Regions from separate parts of the Homo sapiens genome. Here region 2 is linked to region 1. Evidence: promoter capture Hi-C in 16 types of primary human blood cells and fetal thymus (Javierre and others, 2016). All regions are on one chromosome and are shown on one strand. The core of a region is centred on a gene start or on the middle of the fragment in contact, and the rest is flanking DNA. Distances in the headings are between cores, read along the strand shown.

The links. The method cuts DNA at HindIII sites, captures the fragments that hold promoters and counts their contacts. A CHiCAGO score of 5 or more calls a contact.
Region 2: a contact is called between a fragment that was not itself captured here and the fragment with the promoter of KRTAP21-1 in region 1, in 1 of 17 cell types (neutrophils). The highest score is 5.2, in neutrophils.

What each region holds. Positions count from the first base shown.
Region 1 is chr21:30,752,828-30,758,060 of GRCh38, forward strand. It overlaps KRTAP21-1 (keratin associated protein 21-1), which reads right to left and starts at 2,601. Exons shown (of 1, transcript NM_181619.2): 1 at 2,188-2,601. The coding sequence starts at 2,551. The coding sequence ends at 2,312. The HindIII fragment of the contact is 7,815 bases long and covers 1-5,233 here.
Region 2 is chr21:30,786,573-30,791,805 of GRCh38, forward strand. No RefSeq gene overlaps it. Among named protein-coding and RNA genes, the nearest start is that of KRTAP8-1, 24 kb to the right of the region's middle. The HindIII fragment of the contact is 9,732 bases long and covers 1-5,233 here.

The sequences.
Region 1 (5,233 bases), core at 1,351-3,850:
TTCCAGACAGCACAGTTAGTCCTCAGATCTGACTCACAAATACTCCAGATGGGAAAGCTATCCTGCTCTTGGAAGAAACCCCTATTGTCCATCAGTCGGACAGATTCTATCCTGGACATAGATTTCCTCCTGGGCTGATATTGATTGTAGGGCTATCTTTCTTAGAGCCAGGCATTTTGTGGGGTCACCCAGCTCCAGGGACCTCAGAGAGCCAGACTTGGTGTAATGGTCCCTGTTGTGTGGATGAAACAGGGACACATTTATTACTGCTGATTATAACAAGTTTCTACTGAATCCAGAAGACTTTCTCTGTTGTAAGATTTCAGTGATAGAGTTTGGATGGTCTAGAACTGGAGGAAAGGACACTAAAATCAGAATCAAAGAAGCAGTAAACACTCCACATCAGAAAGTCAGCCAGGAAACTAGAACAGACCCTTTAATCTCATTTTTATGACCACCCCAATCTAAAAAGAACTCCATTAAGATACTAGACCTTGCTCTTTTCTAACTGAAAAATGTGTCATCACCTTCATCATACCCAAAACTTAATGAACTGCTGTCCCCCTTGGCATTTGCTACTGTCCTTTTTAGTCTTTCTTTGCTGCTGGAAATGTTGTATTATGAGCTCAAATGTCATAACCTCAAGATACTTCCCTGAGCTGTCTCTCCAGTACTTCAAACCTTAATCTCCTCTCCATTAAGCTGTTTCATTCCCTCTATAGCAATTATCTGTCTGAATTTGTTATAATTAGTTTTTGCTTCATTATTATTATTATTATTATTATTAATTATTTTAGACAGAGTTTTGCTCTTGTTGCCCGGGCTGGAGTGCAATGACGCAATCTTGGCTCACTGCAACCTCCATCTCCCAGGTTCAAGCGATTCTCGTGCCTCAGCCTCCCAAGTAGCTGGGATTACAGGCGCCCATCACCACGCCTGGCTAATTTTTGTATTCTTAGTAGAGACGGGGTTTCGCCATGTTGGCCAGGCTGGTCTCGAACTCCTGACCTCAAGTGATCCACCTGCCTCAGCCTCCCAAAGTGCAGGGATTAACAGGCATGAGCCACCACATCTGGCCTATTTTTGCTTCTTTAAATCTTCATCTGTTAGACTATAAACATTCTGAGAGCAGAACATTTGCTTATAATTTTTCTTCTGTGTCTTCAGGATGGTGTCTATTCAAAAATATTTAAGTGAATTAAATAGCATTTCTCAACCTCCATGTAAGCAAACATATATATTTGTACTTTTGTCAGATGTAGATACATTTGATAGTATATTTTTTCTTTGAACTTACCCTTTTTTAGGTTTTTATTTCCTCTTGCCTAACACTTGACCCTGACTCAAAATTTTCAACAATCCTGGAAGTGATCTCTCCTATTGCATTACTTTTTTTTGTGTGTGTGATGGAGTCTCAGTGTGTCACCCAAGCAATCTCGGCTCACTGCAACCTCCACCTCCTAAGGGTTCAAGCAATTCTCCTGTCTCCACCTCCTGAGTAGATGGAATTACAGGCACGCACCACCAAGCCCAGCTAATTTTTGTATTTTTAGTAGAAACAGAGTTTCACAATGTTGGCCAGGCTGGTCTCGAACTCCTGACCTCAGGTGATCCACCCACCTCAGCCTCCCAAAGTGCTGGGATTATATTACTTCTTTAAGCACTCAGGCTATATCTCCTCCCTGAGACTTTTGTCATAACATCCTGAATAGGTGTCACTTTGCCTCCCTTTCCCCCTCCAGCTCCATTCTAGACACTCAGTGCCATTTCCAAAGCACAGTTCTGAAATACTCTGTGATTTGTGCTTGGGTATGTGAGAACCTGAGCATGTGGGATATGAGAAGCAGGTAGAGAAGACATTATTTATGATGCAAGCATAAGAGGAAATAATTGCGTTATATCAAGGAAGTACCTAAGGTTCAGCCAACATACTGTTAGCCCAATTTTCAAGAGATTCCAAAACACCCCAAGAAAGAGTAATTCACAAGCAAGTACACAAAGATTTTTAGGAATAAAGAACCATTTTTATTACAAATGATTGACTTCCGCAACTGTAGATGTTATGATCATTAACACAGTCATAACAGAGAATCAGAGATTAAGGGAGCAAAAGATAACATTTGGAAAACAGTCAGATGACACCATGGATCCTATGGCCATGATTTCATTCAAAGAAATGTGAGGCTAGAGGTCGAAGATTCTGTCAAGCATGTAATTCTTGGATATAGAAATCTTGGAGTACGAATCCTTGAATCAGCATTATCTTCAGACGTGTCATTTTAGAAGCAAATGGTCCTCCGACAGTGATGTTTTAGCAGGAAGAATAGCATCTTCTAAAGCAAAATGGCCGGTAGCCACAGTAGCCAGAGCCAGAGCCATATCCACAGCCATAGCCAGTTCCATAACCACAGCCATAATGGGAGCCAAACCCACAGCCATACCCACAGCCATAGCCAGTTCCATAGCCACAGCCACAGCCAGAGCCAGAGCCATAGCCACAGCCACAGCCGGAGCCATAGCCACAGGAGTTGCCGTAGTAGTTGCAACACATGTTGTCAAGAGGAGAGAATTGAGATGGGTTTCAAGAAGATGCTTCTGAGGTGTGGATGTCTTCTACTTCCCTGAGACCTTTATATACTGTCAGTAATTGCCAAAGCATATCACTCATTCCCTGACTTAGGCAACAAATATTTAATCAATTATTATGTGCCAGTCACTGTTGACCATCAATAATATTTTGCTTAAAATGAGCCAATTATTTTGGAGACTCTAGTTTCATTTCAGGAACATCATTTTAATCTGCTCTGCCAAAGAACTGCCTCAATGAAATCATGTGCCCAAATATAAAGCTGATACTAATTTTCAAAATCTCCTATCAGTAAATTTATATCTTACATAACAAGTTTTGGGAGGATAATAACAAAATTTTATCCTTTTTTTCCTCTCTTTTTTCCTAAAATGTCTACCTCTACCCATAGGGAAGGAGACACTCCTATCTCCTTTCCTGAGTCATTACAACTTCTTGCCAGACTTCTTTCTCCAACTCACTCTGCACTTCCACACCTACCCCTTGTCCAACCTCCCTCAAATCCCAAGAAACATATTCACATCTGATCATTCAAAGCCAGAATGTATGCTATCTGCAAGTGCTTCCTACATTTTCCTTCCATCCACCAGGCAAACCAAGACCCTGGGGAGGCAGAGAAGCCCTCCTTTTGTCTCCCATTTCTTCAGCTATATAAGTAATTGTCATTGAGGAGCCTTTTTAAAACTAAACAGCTTCATTTGGATAAGGAAGTAAAAAAATTCATTCGACCAGAAACTCAGTTCTTTCCTCCAATACAGATTTCATCAAAGTTTTGCATGATGAAATACAGATACATTCCTAGAATTTAATAAACCATTTTTCTTCTCCTTTCACTACTATTCCTTGGACATTTACTTCAGAAGCTAAAGGATAGTGGACAATTTTAGGTTACTGACAGCAAAAGCCCACCATTAACAACTAACCCTTCTATGATATAAAGTAGCACAAAAATAAATTTTGTCCCGTTTCCATACACGCATTTCACACTACTCATTCAAAATTCTCAATTACCCACTTATTACAAGTTCTCAATCTTCTACAAAAATATTCATCGTGATTTTGAAATCCGAGGTGCCCTCCTTCTTCCCAACAATCCTCTCTATCACACTTACCTTTTCAAGATACAAAAGAGGAAAATTAGTATCATTTTTTCTGCCATTAGTATTTTTCTCATCACCCTCAATTATCAACCAAAAAAACCTTCTGTTTATACATCAAAAGTCAGATCTGGAATCACTTTCTACAGGATGCCTTTCCTCATTGCTACTGTGGATTACATTTTCCCTTCAGTTGGAAATCTTTCCTTTTTTTTCTGCTATCTGTCACTCGTCTCATCTCATTTCTCTGCTATGTTTAGTCCCTTAAAAAAAGCATAAATAGATCTCTGTCTCAATTTTTTCTTTTCCTTTAGTTTCTTTCTGTTTTTTCATCCTTGAAATTCAAAACTATAAATTCTACTTCACAAGTGGATCCTCTTGTTTGCTCCTATATGCAGACGAATATAATAGATTTGTCATGCTTTGGTGAAACTTTATCCTGTTTACTAATAAAAGCATGATATTCTTGAGGAAAGAGACTATACCTTTCACAGTAGAAATTCCAGGCAAACCTGAGACCCAATCCACATTTTACATAAGAGGAACTTAAGAGTCAATAGGAGTCAAAGACTAGACCCAAACTGAAGCCACTGTAGCTTCAATTTGGGTCTAGTCTAGATATGACTGTAGCTTCAATTTGGGTCTAGTCTAGGTAAGACTGTAGACATGATATTGGTGCCACAAAGAAAATTTTTTCTACTGAGGCTGAAAACATGGTCAGAACTCAGGAATTGGTGTTGAGCCATAAAATTTATACGACATTCCAAAATTGTCTAATGTGTATGGCATCTTTATTTTCTCTAATATTTTTACAAATTTTATCTTTATAGTCATAGCAGGGCCATGGTGATTCTGCAAGAGGATACCTGTAATTAGTGCTTGGACCTGTTACTTATGTATCTGTTGTATATGTATATATGTGTGTATTCATGTATAAAACTATATATATGTTACCATCCATTACCTCAACTGCAAATTTACATGAGCAAGCAACTTATCTCTCCACTTGCAGGATACAGAATATCCATCTGGTATACTGAAAGTACTTAGATAAGCAAAGGATTCATGGGAAAAAATATTTTTCAATAAACTTCAACTTTGCATTCCTATCACTAAAGGATTGAAACATTTATCCATCCATAATACAAATTAAGAGTAGAATCCCATGTCATTTATCAGGGTTCTTTAGACATTTATAATGACTGATGGTCCTTGTAATAATCCAGGTGAGTTAGAGTAGTGGGAAGTGATCACACAGACACCTGCTCCTAGTTATTGGTATTATAGGAAAGATACAGAACTTAGCAGAAATGAGATGCTATGCAGAACTGAGCAGCTTGCCTTGACCTGAGATTTCCCTCTCTCCTTGGTTCTTCCGTGGGGCAAACAGCTGCCAATAACATTCTATGTGCAGTATGGTCCTGTTGGAATTAAGTAAATATGCAAGCTCCTGCTCTTCACTTCCTTTTGCACTCCCGTTCACATGACCATACTGGAAGAACTTACACTGAGACACTATCAACTTCATTTAAGAGAATATTTACAAACT
Region 2 (5,233 bases), core at 1,845-4,344, 34 kb after region 1:
CAATGTTGCTCATCATGTGAGTTGTAGAGATTTATCAGCAAAGGAGTAAATAAAATCATGATAAGTTTCATCATTAACTCAGCATTTTATCAAATTAAAAAAAATTTTATTGTTTCTGTATGTATGCAATATACACTGTTCCTAATGTACACAATACAGGAATAGCATATTTAGTTATATTGTTAATCCTTTGGCAAACAGAATATAATTCAGGAAAAAAAATTTAAGTAAAATTAAAATATAAATATACTCTAGAAGAAAATCTGTGCTTCAGGGTCATACCTAAGGAAATCTCCTGAGAGCTTGTTGGAAAAGAGGAATCTCAGGCTCCAGTCCAGATCCAGTGAATCCAATTTGGTTTTTAACAAAAACCTGATTTGAACATAATTTGAATCCACCTTAAAGTTCGTGAAACATTGATTTAGATAGCATAAGCTCTCCTAATAGTTGGATCACTCCTCAATGTAGGCATCTCTTTAAATACGTATCTGTTCTTAATAATTTTAATTCAAAAATCACAGTTGTCACTAATTACTGTGGCATATTTCTCTTATGATCATGAATACTCCAATTAGCAGATTAGCATTTCAATATATAAAAGCATGAACACCCGGACGCGGTGGCTCACGCCTGTAATCCCAGCACTTTGGGGAGGCCGAGGCGGACGGATCACAAGTTCAGGAGATCGAGACCATCCTGGCTAACACGGTGAAACCCCGACTCTACTAAAAATACAAACAAAATTAGCCGGGCGTGGTGGCGGGAGCCTGTAGTCCCAGCTACTCGGGAGGTTGAGGCAGGAGAATGGCATGAACCCGGGAGGTGGAGCTTGCAGTGAGCCGAGATAGCGCCACTGCACTCCAGCCTGGGCGATAGAGCCAGACTCTGTCTCAAAAAAAAAAAAAAAAAAAAACCATGAACAGTCCAATTTACCTTTGGACTGCTTGTTTATATTTGAAAGTGAATGTTCAGATAATAACTATAAATTGTAACAACATTCTTTGTAAAACTGACATTGTCACACTGCTTGGAACCATCATATGACCAGGAATAATGAAAAGATCAGAGATATCAAGAATAAGATTGGAGTTGACATGAGGTCCTTCAGAATTCCAGAAGCTGAAGCCAAAGTAAATGTTAAATTTATTCTGTGTATACCTAGTCAATACATTATCTTCCTTTTTCTGTTAATTTTTATCATAAAACAGAGCATCTGCTTATGTAAGAGTGCAGAATAACATGTTCCCAAAGTACAATCTAGAAAACGCTGCAGCTTTCGGCCAGGAAGAATTCCGTCATCCAGATACAGATATGTCCTTTTTTTTCTGTGAAATTCGTAAGTATAAACTTAACAATGATTCACCATTAAATAAAATTACGAATCTATGGCCATTCTCATAATTGTTTCTGCCTATTAGTCATACCTCTCTAGGGCATTATGAGATGCCCAAAAATAAATGGGTTTATTCGAATATATTTTGTTCAAAACTACTGGTAAAAACAACCTTAAACTACATAGTTGCCAATTTTATGGGGAGTAGGGTGGTGCCTGTTTTGTCTAATTCTGTCTCCTTGAGCAGGGTCTAAATTAGAGGGTAATAGGACTACTTAATAGTCAATTGATGAGTCTCAACAAAGTTTTTTTTGGCATTATCTTAGTCAATTTGGCCCGCTATAACAAAGTACCATACACTGGGTGACTTATGACTAATAGAAATTTATCTCTCACAGTTCTCGAGGCTGAAAATCTGAGATCAGGGTGCCAGCATGGTTGGGTTCCGGTGTGGACCCCCTTCCGGAGTGTGGACCACAGTCTTCCCATTGTATCTTCACACAGTGGAAAGAGGGTATGACTTCTCTAGAGTCCCTTTTATAAAGGCAACAATCTCATTCATGAGAGCTTCACCATCTTGACCTAATCACCTCCCAAAGGAGGTCCCATCTCCTAATATCACCACATTGGGGGTTAAGATTTCAACATATAAGTTCTGTGGGGATACAAATATTTAGTCCATTGCAGGCAGAATTCTCAGAAATTATGTAGCCATATACTGAATAAATAGGTAATGGGTTATTTTGCCAACTTTACTTTCAACGAAATTGAATGATAATTGCATTTCAATTAATAGATCATTTAAAATAATTTTGTTGTTAGATAATTATTTACTTTTGGCTTACACCTCAGGAGAGGTCAAACAATCAAGCACAATTGCTGTAACAAAAATTCCTCCATTTTGTCTGCTTACCTGTAGAAACAAGGCCGCCGATGTTTTCTATCTAGAGATCTAAAGCTAGGAGTAGGACTGATGCTGAAATTTATCTCATTCTAGCAAAGAATAGTTGTTCAAGAATCTGTGAAATAGTAAATTTTAAATAAAAAGCTATCTATTTTTGTCTCATCATTGAGCTATATATCAATTTTTATTAATATTTTAGTAACTATTGTATTTGTAATATTTTTATGACACTCTGATGCATGATGCATTATGCTACATTTTATCGAATCTAAACTCCACCAAATGTGTAGCATGCAATTATTTTATTCACCATTAAGGAAATTCAATGGTACACATTAGGCCTTTAGATTTGTTTGTCCCCCATATCCTCTACTTTATACCTCTGACCTACTTCTCCCCATTTCCTCTATCCCTCTTCTGTGGTAACAATTAATGAGGAATATAGCTAATAAAATTGTACTGTACTTGGAATTTCTGCTAAATGATTAGATTTTAGTTGTTCTTGCCACCAAAAAAAAGGATATTTTTGTCAGATGATGGCTATGTTAATTTGCTTCACTGTAGTACCATTTTACTCTCTCCATGTATCCCATAACATTACATTGTATACCTCAAATACACACAATAAAATTTTTAAAAAAGAAAATGCAGTGGCACACATCACTTGTTAAATGCACACAATTTCCAAAATATTAAAATGTGAAAACATATGCACCTAAATATCAATGAAATGTAGTAATAATTATGATAACTGCTATGGGCTGAATTGTGTCTCCTGCCAAAATTCACATGTTAAAGGCTTAACCCTCAATACTATTATCATTGGAGAGAGGCCCTGTAATGAGGTAATTAGGGTTAAATGAGGCCATAAAGACAAACGTGGGGGCCCAGATTTCATAGAATACTGGGTTGTGCTCTCTCTCGCTCTGTCTCTCTCTCCCTTTGCCATGTGGGGACACAGCAAGAAGATGGCCATCTACAAGCCAAGATAAGAGGTCTCAGAATGAAACCTACCTTGCCAGCACCTTGATCTTGGACTTCCCAGCCTCCAGAATGGTAAGAAATAAATTTCTGTTGTTTAAGCCACCGAGCCTGTGAAATTTTGTTACGGTAGCCTTAGCTGACTGAACAACAATCTAATCCAAAAGGACAATTTTAAGACATAGCTTTGTGGGAACAGGAAATAAAATTTATTAATAAATAAAGTTGTATGGAAAAATACATTATAAATTTATAATTGTATCTTTATGTGAATATTTTTGAGAAGATGCACGATAGAGTAGTTAATAAAATACTTATAAAAATATATTTCATTAGTAAAATACTCTATGGGAAAAGGACAATGGAAAGATAAGTTCAAGGAAGAAAAAAGATGCAGATTTCTTTTAAGATCTTAAGGATTTTTCAATGAATAGTAGTGCACAGCAAATGGCTATTATACTTACATTTTACTGGTAGATTTTTAAAGTATGGTAATAATTTTATTTTAAAGTGACAATATTGATACGGTTTGGCTCAGTCCCCAACCAAATCTCATACTGAATTATAATCCCCAGTGTTGGAGGTGGGAACAAGTGGGAGGCGATGGGACCTTCCCTTTCACTCTCTCTTCCCCGTTCCCCTTCCATATAAACCACACTTGCTTCCCAGTAGCCTTCCAGCATGATAGTAAGTTTCCCGAGGCCTCCCCTGAAACAGCAGCCTGTGTAGCCTGCAGAACTCTGAGCCAGTATAAACTCTTTTCTTTATAAAGTGCCCAGCTGCTAGTTTTTTATAGCAGTGAGACAGCGGACTGATGCCGACATTTGAAATATGCCAGAAATTATATTCTTTGCATCTAATTAAATATTAATTTCATATTTTAGATACTATCTTAAAGAAATAAGAGAAGGCATTTATGAGAAGGGTAGATATTATTAGTGTTCACCAATCTCATATTCTCTTATTGTAGGCACCCAAATGCCTTGTATTTGATAGGGCCATTTGACAAATTCTGGCCAGTTATATATAAGGGAAAGAGATGTGTGCGTCTTTCAAACAGCGTTAGTGATTCTCTAGTTTCTCTTTCTTCCACCGAAGACAAAGGAAGTCAGTCTTTTTGCAGATGATGCTGCCAGTACATGATGGGTCTCCAGCCCCCGGGATTCCTAAGTCACTTTTTAACAACACACCTCTGACATCCTGCAATGGGCATGTTACATTAATATGTAATAAATTCATGTTGGGAGAAGCCACTGAAATTTTAAGGTTGTCGGTTACCTCAGATGAACTTAGCCTGGGCTGATGCAGAAGGGGAATCCGTGAGGAAAAGGAAATGAGGACCATCATGATCATGGAACTCTGGGGAAGAGAAAATTTTTAAAGCTGTTTCCATGTGTTTTACAGAGGAAAAAGTGACATGAGGTATGAGAAATAGTTAATGAATCTGATAAATTGGAATTTCTTTGATGATCTTACAGAAAAAGGTTTTCAGGGAAGTGTTGAAGGTTGATTCAGTTGCTATAAATTGAAGAGGGAGTAGGAAGTGAGGCAGTGGCAGTGTGAAATGCCATTTCAAGATTGTGGCTCTGAAGGGAGAAGTCGAGGGAGAAATTTAAAAGGGAGATGACATACTAAAAAATATTTTCTAGAAAATTGAGTGTCCGTCTGGCCTGAAATAACTCATATATATGCAATTTGTGTAAATCCCAATGTACTTGTAGTCCAAATTACAAATAATACCGAGTAATGCACAATCTTTTATTTCTCACCAAATCTTTAATGTGTCTTTGTTTCTCTTCTCGACTAAATCAGCTTCTAGAGAGAGAACAAAGGCAAAAATCGTATTCATGTATTTGTCTCACAGCAACTACAAGTAACTGGTATTTAGTAGAAGCCTGATAAATTTGATTCATTGACTAATTAATCATAATCTGTAACAATGTCTTGAAAATTAAATATAATAATATAAAGATTGTGGTTTATATATGCTTTTCTTATGAAGATTAATTAATAGC